2 separate regions of the Homo sapiens genome follow, and region 2 is linked to region 1. The links are contacts of gene promoters, found by promoter capture Hi-C in blood cells and fetal thymus (Javierre and others, 2016). All regions are on one chromosome and are shown on one strand. Each heading gives the region's core, a stretch centred on a gene start or on the middle of the fragment in contact. The rest is flanking DNA. Distances are from core to core; before and after follow the strand shown. Region 1 holds the start of XRCC1 (X-ray repair cross complementing 1). Region 2 overlaps LYPD3 (LY6/PLAUR domain containing 3).

Region 1 (6,614 bases), core at 1,916-4,415:
TTGGATGTCATTATTCCCAATGGACACATGAGAAAACAGGTTAGAGAAATGAAACAATTTTCTTGAGGTCACCGATTAAGAGGAAGAGCTGGGGGCTTGAATCTAGATCTCAAGACTAAAACTGTCAGCAATCTGTATCTATCACAGTTTAAAAGACTGAGGTCAGGTGCAGTGGCTCATGCCTGTAATCCCAACATTTTGGGAGGCCAAGGTGGGTGGATCACTTAAATTAGCATTTGGTGCTCATTTGCCTTGAACTCCTGAGGTCAGGAGTTCAAGACCAGCCTAGCCAACATGGCAAAACTCGGTCTCTATTATAAATACAAAAATTAGCCAGGCATGTAAATTCCAACTACTCAGAAGGCTGAGGCATGAGAATCATTTGAACCTGGGAAGTGGAGGCCATTAGTTGACAGGCACTAAACACTGACATCAATTGGGGTGGACCAGATGATGTTACAGTAACAAAGGAGTCCCTAATCTCAGTGGTTTAAAACAACCAAGTTGTATTAACTTACACTGTAATAATGCTGTGTAACAAATCATCCTAAAACTGAGATCTTTTCTTTTTTTTTTTTTTTTTTTTTTTGAGATACAGTCTCACTCTGTCTCACAGGCCGGAGTGCAGTGAAACCATCACAGTTCACTGCAGCTTCAACCTTATGGGCTCAATCAATCCTCCCCGCTCAGCCTCCCTGGTAGCTGGGACTACAGGCATACGCCACCAAGCCCAGCTATTTTTTATAATTTTTCGTAGAGATAGGGTTTCCCCATGTTACCCAGGCTGGTCTCAAACTCCTGGGTTCAAGCGATTCACCCACCTCGACCTCCCAACATGAAAACTGAGACTTATACCAACAAGCATTCTTATAAGAATTTGTGGGATGGCTGCTTTGGCTGCAGTTTGGGAGGATTCAGGTCTCTTCCATGAGATTCCACAGTTTTCTGGGATTAGCAGTAACCTGGCAAATGTTCTCATGGCATATTATGGGAGCACAAAAGCCAAGTGCATTTAAGGCCCTTGCTGAAGTTAGATGTGCTGAAATTCCATTAAGTAAATCATATGGTCAAACTCATCAATGGAGCAGGGAAATATACTCCCCCTCCAGTGGGAGGGAGAGGAGTGGATATTTGCTGAATGACTGCCCATTCACAAAAGGTTAATTTTTCCGTCACCCTAGCACTATCCACAGAGTGTTCTGCTCCTTATAGTCATAAAGCAGCCCCCAGGCCAGGAACAATGGTTCATGCCTGTCATCCGAGCACTTTGGGAGGCTGAAGCAGGAGGAACGCTTGAGCCCAGGAGTTTGAGACCAGCCTGGCAACATGGTGGAAACCCCATCTCTAAAAAAATACAAAAAAAACTAGCCAGGCATGGTGGTGCACACCTGCAGTCCCAGCTACTCAGGAGGCTGAGGTGGGAGGATCGCTTGAGCCCAGGAGGTAGAGGCTGCAGTGAGCCAAGCCAAGATCATGCCACTGCACTACAGCCTGGGAACAGAGTGAGACTCTGTCTCAACAGATAAATAAAAGATTGACTGTCAGGCAAATTGTATAACTTCTTTGGGCCTCAGTTTCCTCATCTGTAAAAGTGGGGATAACAGAGCCTGCCTCTTGGGGTTTTTTATGAGGACTCAATGAGCTAATCCATGTGAGTGAGGTGTGTAGAGCAGCGACTGACAGGTAACGTTGAATAATGCCAGCTCTCATTATTATTATTTTATTTTTTATATTTTGGGGGTCTCACTCTGGTGCCCAGGCTGGAGTGCAGTGGCACAATCTCAGCTCACTGCAGCCTCCATCTCCTGGGCTCAAGCAATTCTCTCACCTCAGACTCGCCAGTAGCTGGGATTGCAGGTGCACACCACCATACTCAGCTAATCTATAAAATTTTGGTAGAGATGACATCTTACTGTATTGCCCAGGCTGGTCTCAAACTCCTGGGCTCATGCAATACTCCAGCTTCGGCCTCCCAAAGTGATGGGATTACAGGTGTGAACCACCATACCTGGCTATTATTCTTTAAAAAAAATTATTTATTTTAATAAAAATAGAGACAGGGTCTTGATATGTTGCCCAGGCTGGTCTGGAACTCCTGAGCTCAAGCAATCCTCCCATCTCAGGCTCTGAAAGTGCTGGGTTTACAGGCATGAGCCACGGCATCCGGCCAGTTTCCCCTTCTTTAAAGTGGAGTTGATTGGCTTAGACGACCTTCCTGGACACCTTCCAGCCCTGAGCCCACTGGCTGCAGGAGGCAGAGTACGTGGCAATGATTCATTTTGTTCCAGCTGAGGAAACTGGAACCCAGAAAGTAGATGCCACCTGCCCAGGACCACACACTGATTCCTGTGGTCATCCTGGACTTAATCCTTGGGTCTCCTTTCCTCTCTGCTGAGGGGCACAGGGATTATGCTGCCCATTTTCCGAGTAAGGAAGCTGAGGCCCAGCAAAGAAAGTGACTAAACCCACTGCCAGTTGGCTCAGGAGCAGAATCTGGAACCCCGGACTCCAGACTCCTAGTGAGGAGGAGGTGGGGTGGCAGGATCACCTGTAGGACCACAGAGATGGTCTTCTCGCCTGCCTTGGCTGCCCGCCATTTTCGGTAAGTGTCTGCCTTGAGAAGATTTTCTGCACAGTGAGTCTGGAAACAACAGTGGGAGAGGAGAATTAGGGCACAGAGATGACAGCTAGGCCTCCAGCTCTCAGATGATTCCTTTGAGTCCTCCCAAGGCCTCTACGACCCCCAGATTTAAGCTCTCCCGTTAATCCCCCGACACTCTGCCTGGAGTTTCCCCTACAACACTTTCCCGTGGAAGTTCACCTATGGGCTCTCCAAGAAAGCTTCCCTATTCCTCCTTTTCTCTCCGGAAGTTCCCTAGACGCCGGAACGTCCCTAATTCAACATCTCTCCACAATTCACTTTTAGCCTCCTGGAAATCCCCCCATGACTCTCCTTAGACTTCCAAGAGAACCCCAAAAGCTCTTTTAAGAGCTATCCTCATTAATTCCCTCACGTCTTCCAACCTCCCCCATGCAGGTCCCTCACCGAGTCCTGGCTGCTGCAGGACACGACATGGCGGAGGCGGATCTCCGGCATGTCAACGTCGTGGGCTTCGCCTGGCCAGAAGGATGAGGTAGAGTATGGGGTCCGAGGGGCAGGGAGAGTGGGAGGGGGCGGGGTGCGCCCTGCGCTGGCTAAAGTGCGCAAGCGCGCGAGGCTCGGGCCTTTCAAACCCCGGCGCGCCGGCGCCGGCGTCGACACTGCGCAAGCCCAGTCGCGCCTCTCCAGAGCGGGAAGAGCGCTGCGTTCCTTAGCAACGAGCGTTTCCTCCAGCCCCGCCTCCCTCCGCCACACACAACCCCGCTCTAGCCTCGCCTCCCAATGACGTCCGAACCCTGCTTTCTGGGAGCCTAGCAACAGAAGCGACCTCCGGGATTGGTGTCTGGAAGAAATTCGCCTTTCTCATTGCACGATGGAGTTACCGCCCACACTGAAGCCGAGAAAGCAAATCTTTTTGCTGTATTATTATTTATTTTATTTTTTAAAAATTTTTTGTTGAGACAGGGTCTTGCTCTCTCACCCAGGATGGAGTGCAGTGGCACGATCTCGGCTTTCTGCAACCCCTGTCTCCTGGGGCCAAGGGATCCTCCCACTTCAGCCTCCTAAGTAGCTGGGATTACACGCACGCGCCACCACATTCGGCTAATTTTTGTATTTTTTGTGGAGACATGGGGTGAGAGGGCGGCGGGTCTTGCCATGTTGCCCAGACTGGTCTCGAACTCCTCAGCTCAAGCGATCCACCTGCCTCGGCCTCTCAAAGTGCTGGAACTACAGGCGTGAGCGACTGCGCTGGGCTAGGACAGCAAATCTGAGTGAATTTTCGTAGTTTCGTAGGGAACCTGGATTCTACGCAACAGGATCTCTTCAAATGGCTCAGGCGGCTGCACTCTTCTCTCTGTCCCCTTGCCACACACACACACACGCACATATACATACATACGCGCGCGCGCACGCGCGAAAAAAATTAGCAGATCTCTTTCAGCCTTATGCCTGAGGCCAAAAGAGAAGGGTTCTGCGTCCTAAATATAACACAAAGCATGTGCCCAACCCCCACCACACACACACACACACACCCCTATCCTGGAGTTCTTCCACAAAAGCCTCAGTTTCCCAATATGTGGACTGTGGGCATCTGTCTTTTACTACGCCCGCCTATGACTGCCGACAGACATCCCTCTGTTCATTCGGTGCCTTGGAGACCCAAGGGTGCAGCCCTGGGTGGGGTCGCAGCTGGAGACAGCCCAAACACACAAGGAGTGTGAGCCGAGCACATGAAGAGAGGGGAAGGGAGACAAGGCACCCCGCACCCGCAGGACCAGCCTGGACATGCTGGGTGCTCCAAGGTGGGGCCCTACCCACACTGGGTGCTTCCTTGGGAGGAGAGGGGAAGAGAGAGAAGGAGAGGGAATCCCAGTTCTTGCAGCCACTGGGAATCAAGAGGCCCAACTCCGTCTTGGTCTTCAAGCAAACAAACAAACAACAATGGGCCGTGGGAAGGTGAGAAAACAGGGTGGTGACTTTCTGGGTTCTAATAGAAGAGGGGGATGGAAGCCCAGACTCCTGGGGTCTCCATGGAGGTGGGGGGCTGGGCACAAGATGCCCAGGTCACTTTTGGATTCTGGTTCTGCCTTCCCAACCCGGAGGCCACAGAGGACTGCCCTGGGTTCTGACCTCAGCTATTTCTCCCCGTAGGGTGAATGTGGGTCCAGACCCACCCCTCCTCAGCTTCCTATAAAAGCTGGGGACCAGGTACTGCTGATACACACACCATGAGGCTCTCCAGGAGACCAGAGACCTTTCTGCTGGCCTTTGTGTTGCTCTGCACCCTCCTGGGTCTTGGTAAGTGACAAGGGACCTGAACTGTCTCTGGGACCTCAGGAAGAGAGAGGTCCCAGATTGAGAGAGAGAGAGATATAGAGAGAGAAAGAGCCTTCAGCAAGTCCTCAAGGTGAACGGGGAGGCATTCTGGAAATTCAGATTCATGGAAGAGGCCAAGGGTAAAGGAAGAGAAAGCCTGGGGGTCCCAGAGAAGAAAAGCTCCTGTGATTGGATCCCTGAGAGAGGGGCTTGGTGGGCTCTGAATCCTCCATCCTCCAGGAAGGATCCCAAACACATCTCAATTCTAGGAAATCAGATGAGAGCATGGCTGGAAAGGGAAATCTTTAAAAATATAATTAAAAAAAAAAAAAGAGGGAGAAGGCCAGGTGCGGTGGCTCATGCCTGTAACCCCAGCACTTTAAGAGGCCGAGGCAGGTGGATCACTTGAGGTCAGGAGTTCAAGACCAGCCTGGCCAACATGGTGAAACCCCGTCTTTACTAAAAATACAAAAAAAGTTAGCTGAGCTTGGTGGTGGGCGCCTGTAATCCTAGCTACTTGGGAGGCTGAGGTGAGAGGATTGCTTGAAACTGGGAGGCAAAGGTTGCAGTGAGCCAAGATCGTGCCACTGCACTCCCCAGCCTGGGTGACAGAGCAAAACTCCATCTCAAAAAAAATACATTAATATCATATGATATATTTTTTTAAAAGAGGTAGAGAGATTTCCTTTCTCCTTAGACTAAGAAGTTCAGGCCCCAGCCCCCTCCTCCCCTGCACACAGGAGTCCAAGTAAGCCTCACTTTCCCCAGGACCCAGGTTTCTGGGCCCCTAGCTGTCCCCTCTCTCAGAACCAAGAAGTTCAAGTCCTCTGCCCTCCTGGTCCTCACTCTCCCTCCTTGACCTGGGATGCAGACCCTAGCCTCAGGGCCCCCTGCCTGAGCTCCTGCTGTCTACAAGACCTACATGGCACCTTCAAGGAGGAGAATCCCACATTCAAGAACCAGCTGGACCTGAAGTTTCACAAAAGTCCATGGAAACCTCCATCACGACCCCTCCCTGCCCCTGAGCTTTCTCAGCGGACCCTGGCATCCAAAATCCCCAGCCATGTAATTAGGCAAACAGGCTTCATGGTGGAGTCGCTTCCCGCCCCTGGAAGCAGCTTTGCTGGCATCACCACTGCTTCTTCGTCCAACTCTGGACAGTTCCTTGGGCAGTGGTCAACATCCCGCCCATGAAAAACCAGGGAGCTGCTGGTCCCTCCTCTCTCAGGACACAAAAGTCCTAAGTCAAAGTCGTGGTCCGAAGACCACACCACCCATGACTACAGCCTCGCCCTCTGTCTACACTGCAGGGTGCCCACTACACTGCGAAATATGTACGGCGGCGGGGAGCAGGTGCCATGGCCAAATGAAGACCTGCAGCAGTGACAAGGACACATGTGTGCTCCTGGTCGGGAAGGCTACTTCAAGTAAGAGGATGTGGCCTGGGACCTGGTGGGGAGGTGGGGTGTACCTTCAGGGTGGAAGAGACTACCATGCTGAGGGGGGATCATCATGGTTCTCAAGACGGGAGCGTGGGAAGAAATCAGTGGAGAGCAGGAAAGAGGGAAAGACCATCATGAGATGGAGGGAACAGAAATAAGTGGTGTGATAGAAATCATTATTGTCACAGAATTCTGAAAATGACACTGTCCTAAAGAGAAGGAAAATGTGGGAGGGGTGAGAGTTAATAGACTTT
Region 2 (6,614 bases), core at 2,922-5,421, 110 kb before region 1:
CACGCCCAGCTGAGTGGTAGGGATTTTGAGCTGGGGTGAATGGCGATTGTAGGTCATTTGCATTTTTAATCGGCTTTACCCAGAAGAGAAGGCAACTTTCTTCTGTCTTCATGACAGGAGGTATTTTACAACTGAGAGCTGAGTCATGTACCAAAGTTAGGCTCTCACCTTCCTGGGGGGAGATAGGAGTGCTATTTCCTTTTATGTTTACAATTTCAAAAAGATAGTTTCCTGGGTCCTGGTCACTCATCCCTGTAATCCCAGCATTTTGAGAAGCCAAGGCAGGAAGATAGCTTGACCCCAGTTCAAGATCAGCCTGGGCAACATAGTGAGACTCCATTTCCTGGGCTATCAACTGGCAAGATACTTTTTTTTTCTTTTTTTTTTTGTGACAGAGTGTCATTTTGTCGCCCCCAGGCTGAAGTGCAATGGCGTGATCTTGGCTCGCTGCAACCTCCGCCTCCCAGGTTGAAGCGATTCTCATGCCTCAGCCTCCTGAGTAGCTGGGATTACAGGCACTTGCCACCACACCTGGCTAATTTCTGTATTTTTAGTAGAGACGGGGTTTCAACATGTTGGTCAGGCTGGTCTTGAACTCCTGACCTCGTGATCCACCCGCCTTGGCCTCCCAAAGTACTGGGATTACGGGCGTGAGCCACCGCGCCCGGCCAAGACTTTTAAAGAGGTTTATATCCATCTCAAATGGACAAAGAAATAATTTACAATGACAAGTTTTCTCAAGTAAATGCTCTAAGAAAAGGGAGGTAAGGGGCCTCTGTGGTTAGACCCTCTGGATTCTGAGGGCCTAGAGGCAGGAGGAAGCCTGTCTAAAGTTTAGTCAAGCTGAGGGAAACATTATGGCAGTGTTGGTACACTCTGTAAAGCTGACCTGCCCGTGTTCAAATCCGAGCTCCACTGCTTAATAGCTGAGTGACGTGGGGCAAGTTTCTTAACCTCTCTAGCCCTGATTTCCCCATCTTGTAAAATGCAGGTGATTAACACTTACTTCATAGGATGGTTTTGTAGATTAAATATATTAATCCAAGTACAGCACTTAATACAGTACCTGGCACATAATCAATGTATTATTTGCTGTGGGTAATTACTTCATCATTCTGAGCCTCAGTTTCCCCAATCATCCCATCTGAAAATATGTGGAAAAGTCAATGAGATGATGGCTGTAAACTGATAGCATAGACTTGGCATCTAGTAAGACTGTCTTTAATCACTAACACAGCTGGGCACGGTGCCTCACATCTGTAATCCCAGCACTTGAGAGACAGAGGCAGGAGGATCATCTGAGCCCAGGAGTTCGAGACCAGCCTGGGTAACATAGTGAGACGCCAATCTCTACAATACAAATAAAAGTTAAATTAAAATTTAAAAATCTCTGCCGGGCATGGTGACTCACGCCTGTAATCCCAGCACTTTGGGAGGCCAAGGTGGGTGGATCACCTGAGGTCAGGAGTTTGAGACCAGCCTGACCAACATGGAGAAACCCCATCTCTACTAAAAATATAAAATTAGCCAAGCATGGTGGCACATGCCTGTAATCCCAGCTACTCGGGAGGCTGAGGCAGGAGAATCGCTTGAACCTGGGAGGGGAGGTTGTGGCGAGCTGAGATTGTGCCATTGCACTCCAGCCTGGGTAACAAGAGCAAAACTCCATTTCAAAAAAAAAAAAAAAGAAAAATCATTAATACTCCCAACACTACATTTACCATCACTGATGTTTCCCTCTATACATGTATTGCAATATATGTGTTTCAGAATAAGAGCTCATACTCTTATTGATGTTCTATTTTGTTGCTATTCTCCTTATTTGCTATTGTTTTGTTGTTACCTCACACTACTCCCCATTATCAATAGTAATATTGGCTATCAATAGCAATATTGGCAATATACTGTTATGATCTCACTATTCCCCACATCTGATCCTCCTCCCATCAAGCAGTCGCAAAGCCTACCAGGAACTCTCTCATTCCCAAACCAGGCTTTTCCCCTCCAGTGCCTCTAGGGCCAGGCCTTCATCTGATTGGAAGGAGATGGAGGTGGGGCTCAAGCCCCAGGTCCCCAACATCAAGCAAAGACCAACAGCAGCACCCCCGGGTCCTACAGACAAGTGGGACACAGTAGGTAAGCCCAGTTAATGACTTTTTTTTTTGAGACGGAGTTTCACTCTTTGCCCACGCTGGAGTGCAGTGGCGTGATCTCGGCTCACCGCAACCTCCACCTCTTGGGTTCAAGCGATTCTCCCGCCTCAGCCTCCCGAGTAGCTGGGATTACAGGCATGTGCCACCATGCCCAGCTAATTTTGTATTTTTAGTAGAGACAGGGTTTCTCCATGTTGGTCAGGCTGGTCTCGGACTCCAGACCTCAGGTGATCCAGCTGCCTCTGCCTCCCAAAGTGCTGGCATTACAGGCATGAGCCACTGCACCCAGGCTTAATGACTCTTAGTAAACCAGATGAAGCCGGGTGCAGTGGCTCCTGCCTGTAATCCCAACACTTTGGGAGTCCAAGGCAGGAGGACTGGGCATCATAGCAAGACCTCATCTCTACAAAAAATAAAATTAGCCAAGTATGATGGGATAAGCCTGTAGTCCCAGCTACTTGGGAGCCTGAGGCAGGAGTTAGAGGTTGCAGTGAGCTATGATTGGGCCACTGCAGTCCAGTTTGGGTGAACAGAGACCCCGTCTCTAAAACAATGCAGACGGCTGGCTGGATGACAAGGCGGGTGGAGCCTAGGGAGGGTACATAAACTCATTAGACAAAGCTCTCTATTCCCTGGCATTGCTAAAAGCCCCATTCGCCCCTCCATGCTGCTTAATGGTTTCGCCCGGTCTCCCCCTCACCAGTGGGACCACCCACATGCAGGATAGACCCAGGAGATTAAAGTTCAACCGTGACTTCCCCCAGGACTGCGGCTCTAGGTCCCATATCTCTCCCGTTAAAGGCTTTATGATGCCCACCCTAGCTCAGCTAGAGCGGTTATTGCGAGAAACAAGGTGGAAGTGACTCCTTTAAAGCACTATACAAAGTAATTAAATCTTTATTGAGGCATTTATGTGCCAGAAACTGATCACACACAGACATAAGGCACGGTCCCTGCCCTCGAGGAGCTCACAGTCTAGTAAGGAAGACATATGGGGAACCGATTCCCCAAAGATGCGGGGAGTAGGGGAGGCAGTGCTTAGAGTGGGGAGCCATTGTCCCACCCACCCCACGCTCCAAAGTCCAGGCTGGCTAGGAGAAAGTGAGTAGGAAGCTTAGCATCCTCTCTCTCACCTTCCCCGTGACAGCTGACTTCTCTCACTCTGTCCTAACATCACAAGAGGACAAGCGGAGAGACAAGGATGAGAAGGATACAGGAGCTGTCCTCAAAAAGCTAGAACACCCCTGGCAGAATATATACAACGGTATTTTATTTCCCAAAGCCGCAAACCAGCGCAGCAGAAGCTGGGGATACTGGGGAATGTTGGAAAAACAGGGGCTGGGCCAGCCCAGTCCAGTGGTGGGAACAGGAAGTGATGAGAAGAGGGGTACCCAGGGCCAGAGAAGTAGGTGAGAGGGAAATTTCCAGGTGGAGAAGCTCACAGTAGGACACCAGCAGCCACGGCCAACAGAAGGGCTGCCAATCCAGCTGTGGGAGCCACACAGCCTTTATTATGGGGCTGCTGGGGCCCCCCTTTTGCAGGATACTGCCCTGAATTGCTGCGGTCCTGGTGGCCAGCGGCGCCTCCAGTCAACCTGGGCTCCTCATCCCGGGAGGCCTCGTGTTCTACTCCCTGTCTCGGAGTCTGACTGGTTGGCGCTGGCATGGGTTTGGTGGTGGATGTGGGTCTCACTGGGGCCGAGGTAGAAGTGGTGACAGATGTGGTTGAGGCCACAGTCGTGGGCTCTGGAGGGGGCAGCCGGACAAGGGGTGGGATTCGAGGGGAGAAGTAGGTCTTGTTGCGGAGGTCAGAGTTACAGCGGGACCCCTGGCAACAGGAGCCACTGAGCGTGAACCCTGGGCCTGTTACTCCATCCCGAGTGCAGAATTCATCCTGGACACAGCCCCGGACAGGCAAGGACACAGTCACATTAGCTGCAGGAAGGAGACACAGATAGGTCAGTGGCTGGAGGGAGAGAGGTTGACATGGCCAGAACAAAACTTAGAGGCATCAGACAAGAACAGAGAACCTGACCGGGCGTGGTGGCTCACGCCTGTAATCCCAGCACTTTGGGAAGCCGAGGCAGGTGGATCACTGGGCAACAGAGTGAGACTCTGTCTTGCAAAAAAAAAAAAGAACAGAGAACCCCCAAAATGAGACAGAAAGTCTCTGCATCCATTAATCCCAAAATCTCAACTCAGGTCCTACTATGAGAAACAGACAGACTCACTGTCTTTGGCACATGGTGGATTAACATTTTCCATTGTGCTTTGAATGGAAATGTGTGTAGGCTGAACCAAAAGTAGGGTTTAAAACAAAGGCTTAGACTGAGATACAAGACCTCTCACAAGACCACAGTGCAGAACAAACTTCCTCTACAACCCTCTCACCATTATCCCCTTAGCCTTCACCCTGGCTTTTACCTCCCCATCAGAATTTACTCTTAGAGTCAGAGTTACATCTCCACACCAGGCTCAGTGGTTCACGGCTGTAATCCCAGCACTCTGGGAGACCTAGGCAGGGGGATCTCTTAGCCCAAGAGTTCAATACCAGCCTGGGTAACATGGCAAGACCCCACTGTTACCAAAAATAAAAGGAACCAGTCGTGGCGGTGCACCCTGTAGTCCCAGCTACTTGGGAGGCTGAGGCGGGAGGACTGCTTGAGCCCAAGAGGTAGAGGCTGCAGTGAGCTATGATTGCGCCACTACACTCCAGGCTAGGCGATAGAGCAAGATGCTGTCTTTAAAAAAAAATAGTAATAATAAAATAAAAAAGAACTACATCTTCCATAGCATAACTGGCAGGGGATGGGATTTGAAGAACTTCATTTTCCATGGTTACATTTCTCAATAGTCTGGGACAGGCGGGGGACCCCTTGAGTTTTAAGGGCTAAGAACTAGAGATTCCCCGCAGTGCCTGGGCAGAAGCTTAGAGGCTTAAATACCTCTTAAGTACCTGGCAGCCCTCTATGGAAATGCATTTCCCTCCAAAACACTCTGGGACAAAGCATCACTATCCCCACACTATTAATATGTTGGGGGAAGGGACTGCATTTTCCATGATGCCCTACGATACAAGCACCTAGGCCCCACGATTCCCAGAATGCGTCGCAGGTTAAGGAAACGCTTTGGGTAAAGGGCTCCCTACCGCCCAGGGTGCTTCAGAAGGGCTACCACAACTCCCGTAGGTCCCGTGCTCCGGGGCTCCCTCACCTGCCGTCAAGGTGACGTTGCCGTCGAAGCAGCCCTTGTAGACATGATCGCTGGCGTTGTAGCAGCTCACGACCGGCGGCGATGTACCCTGGCACGCCTCCCGGCTCAGGCCCACACAGCTGTAGCACTCCACGCCGTTGGGCGGGTATGCACTCTCATTACCTGCGAGGGGAGCCGAGAGGAAGAAAAGGTGTCGAAAGGGTTCGGGAACCGCAGCTCGTCCTCTAGCCCCGCCCCTAAGGCCTGGCCCCGGCACTATCGATGACCCCGCCTACTAGTAGCCCCGCCCCAGCGCGCAACCTCGCGGCGCCTACAGCCAGAAAGTCCCTCCTGCTGCCTCTTGGCCCCGCCCCAGAGTGTGACCCCACCCCCAGCCCAGGTCGAGTACTCCCGCCTCTGCCACGGCTCCACCTCTATCTTGGCAGGCCCGAATGTGGCTCCGCCCCCGCAGCTACGGCCCGGCCCCCACGGACCTGCCGGGTCGAGCGCCCGCGAGGTGAGGTTGAGCTTGGCGTTGCAGCGATCCTGAGCGCATTGCTGCAGCTGGATGAACGCCAGAAGCCCGTGAAGATCCAGGCCGCGGTCATTCTTGCCGGGGAGTCCCGAACCGCAACCCCGCACTGCCAGCGAGAATTGTCCGTGGACTAGGGAGAGGGACAAGGGCGGGATTAGCTGTGGGCGTGGTCTCAGATGGGGCGTGGCCCAGAGTTGGGTAGGGTCTGGGAGGGGCGGGGCCTCAAATAGGCCAACACCACAGGACCGACAGGCAGGAATTGGCGGATGGACGCCCCCAAAGAGCCGCTCAGAGCGGAAAGAACGACCGAAGCAGGGAGGAGCGGGGTCACGGAACGGGGGCGGAACCTCAAAGAGCTGAGTCGGAGGAGACAGCCTGGTTGACAGGCAGGGATGGGGAGGTCTCATTGGTGGAGCAGAAAAAGTGCATAGGACGTGACCTCGTTCCAAACCCGAGCTCTCCCCGTCCGCCCCACCCAGTTCTCAACTCTCTGCTCCTCGCGCTTGTAATTGTTAATAGAGAAGGCCTGGCCTGCAAGGCTGTGTCGTAGGGTCCCGGCCAGGCTGAAAGGGAGGGGTGGGGCCGCGTTAAAGGGGCGTGGCCAGATCCAGAAAGGACTATAAGGAGGCGGGGCTGGGCCGGAGGAGCCTGCAGTGGTGTGCGTGGCCCGGGGGTCCCCACTCACTGGTCTCCACCGCCCCCACGGCCTCGGTGCAGACGTCCACGCCCGGCGC

What was found. Contacts are between HindIII fragments. The CHiCAGO score rates a contact against its expected background, and 5 or more counts as called.
Region 2: a fragment that was not itself captured here is called in contact with the fragment with the promoter of XRCC1 in region 1 in 11 of 17 cell types (fetal thymus, naive CD4 T cells, naive CD8 T cells and 8 more); the score reaches 17.3 in fetal thymus.

What each region holds. Positions count from the first base shown.
Region 1 is chr19:43,572,362-43,578,975 of GRCh38, forward strand. It overlaps XRCC1 (X-ray repair cross complementing 1), which reads right to left and starts at 3,166. Exons shown (of 17, transcript NM_006297.3): 1 at 3,047-3,166; 2 at 2,549-2,641. The coding sequence starts at 3,097. It overlaps PINLYP (phospholipase A2 inhibitor and LY6/PLAUR domain containing), which reads left to right and starts at 3,440. Exons shown (of 6, transcript NM_001193621.3): 1 at 3,440-4,558; 2 at 4,754-4,900; 3 at 6,229-6,345. The coding sequence starts at 4,831. RefSeq lists a silencer at 3,120-3,279 and enhancers at 3,380-3,539, 3,540-4,066, 4,067-4,592. The HindIII fragment of the contact is 21,720 bases long and covers 2,840-6,614 here.
Region 2 is chr19:43,457,760-43,464,373 of GRCh38, forward strand. It overlaps LYPD3 (LY6/PLAUR domain containing 3), which reads right to left. Exons shown (of 5, transcript NM_014400.3): 2 at 6,566-6,614; 3 at 5,840-6,010; 4 at 5,367-5,528; 5 at 3,028-4,088. The coding sequence ends at 3,592. Among named protein-coding and RNA genes, the nearest start is that of LYPD3, 4.5 kb to the right of the region's middle. RefSeq lists enhancers at 5,378-5,437, 5,468-5,517, 6,070-6,601 and a silencer at 5,668-5,827. The HindIII fragment of the contact is 1,815 bases long and covers 3,265-5,079 here.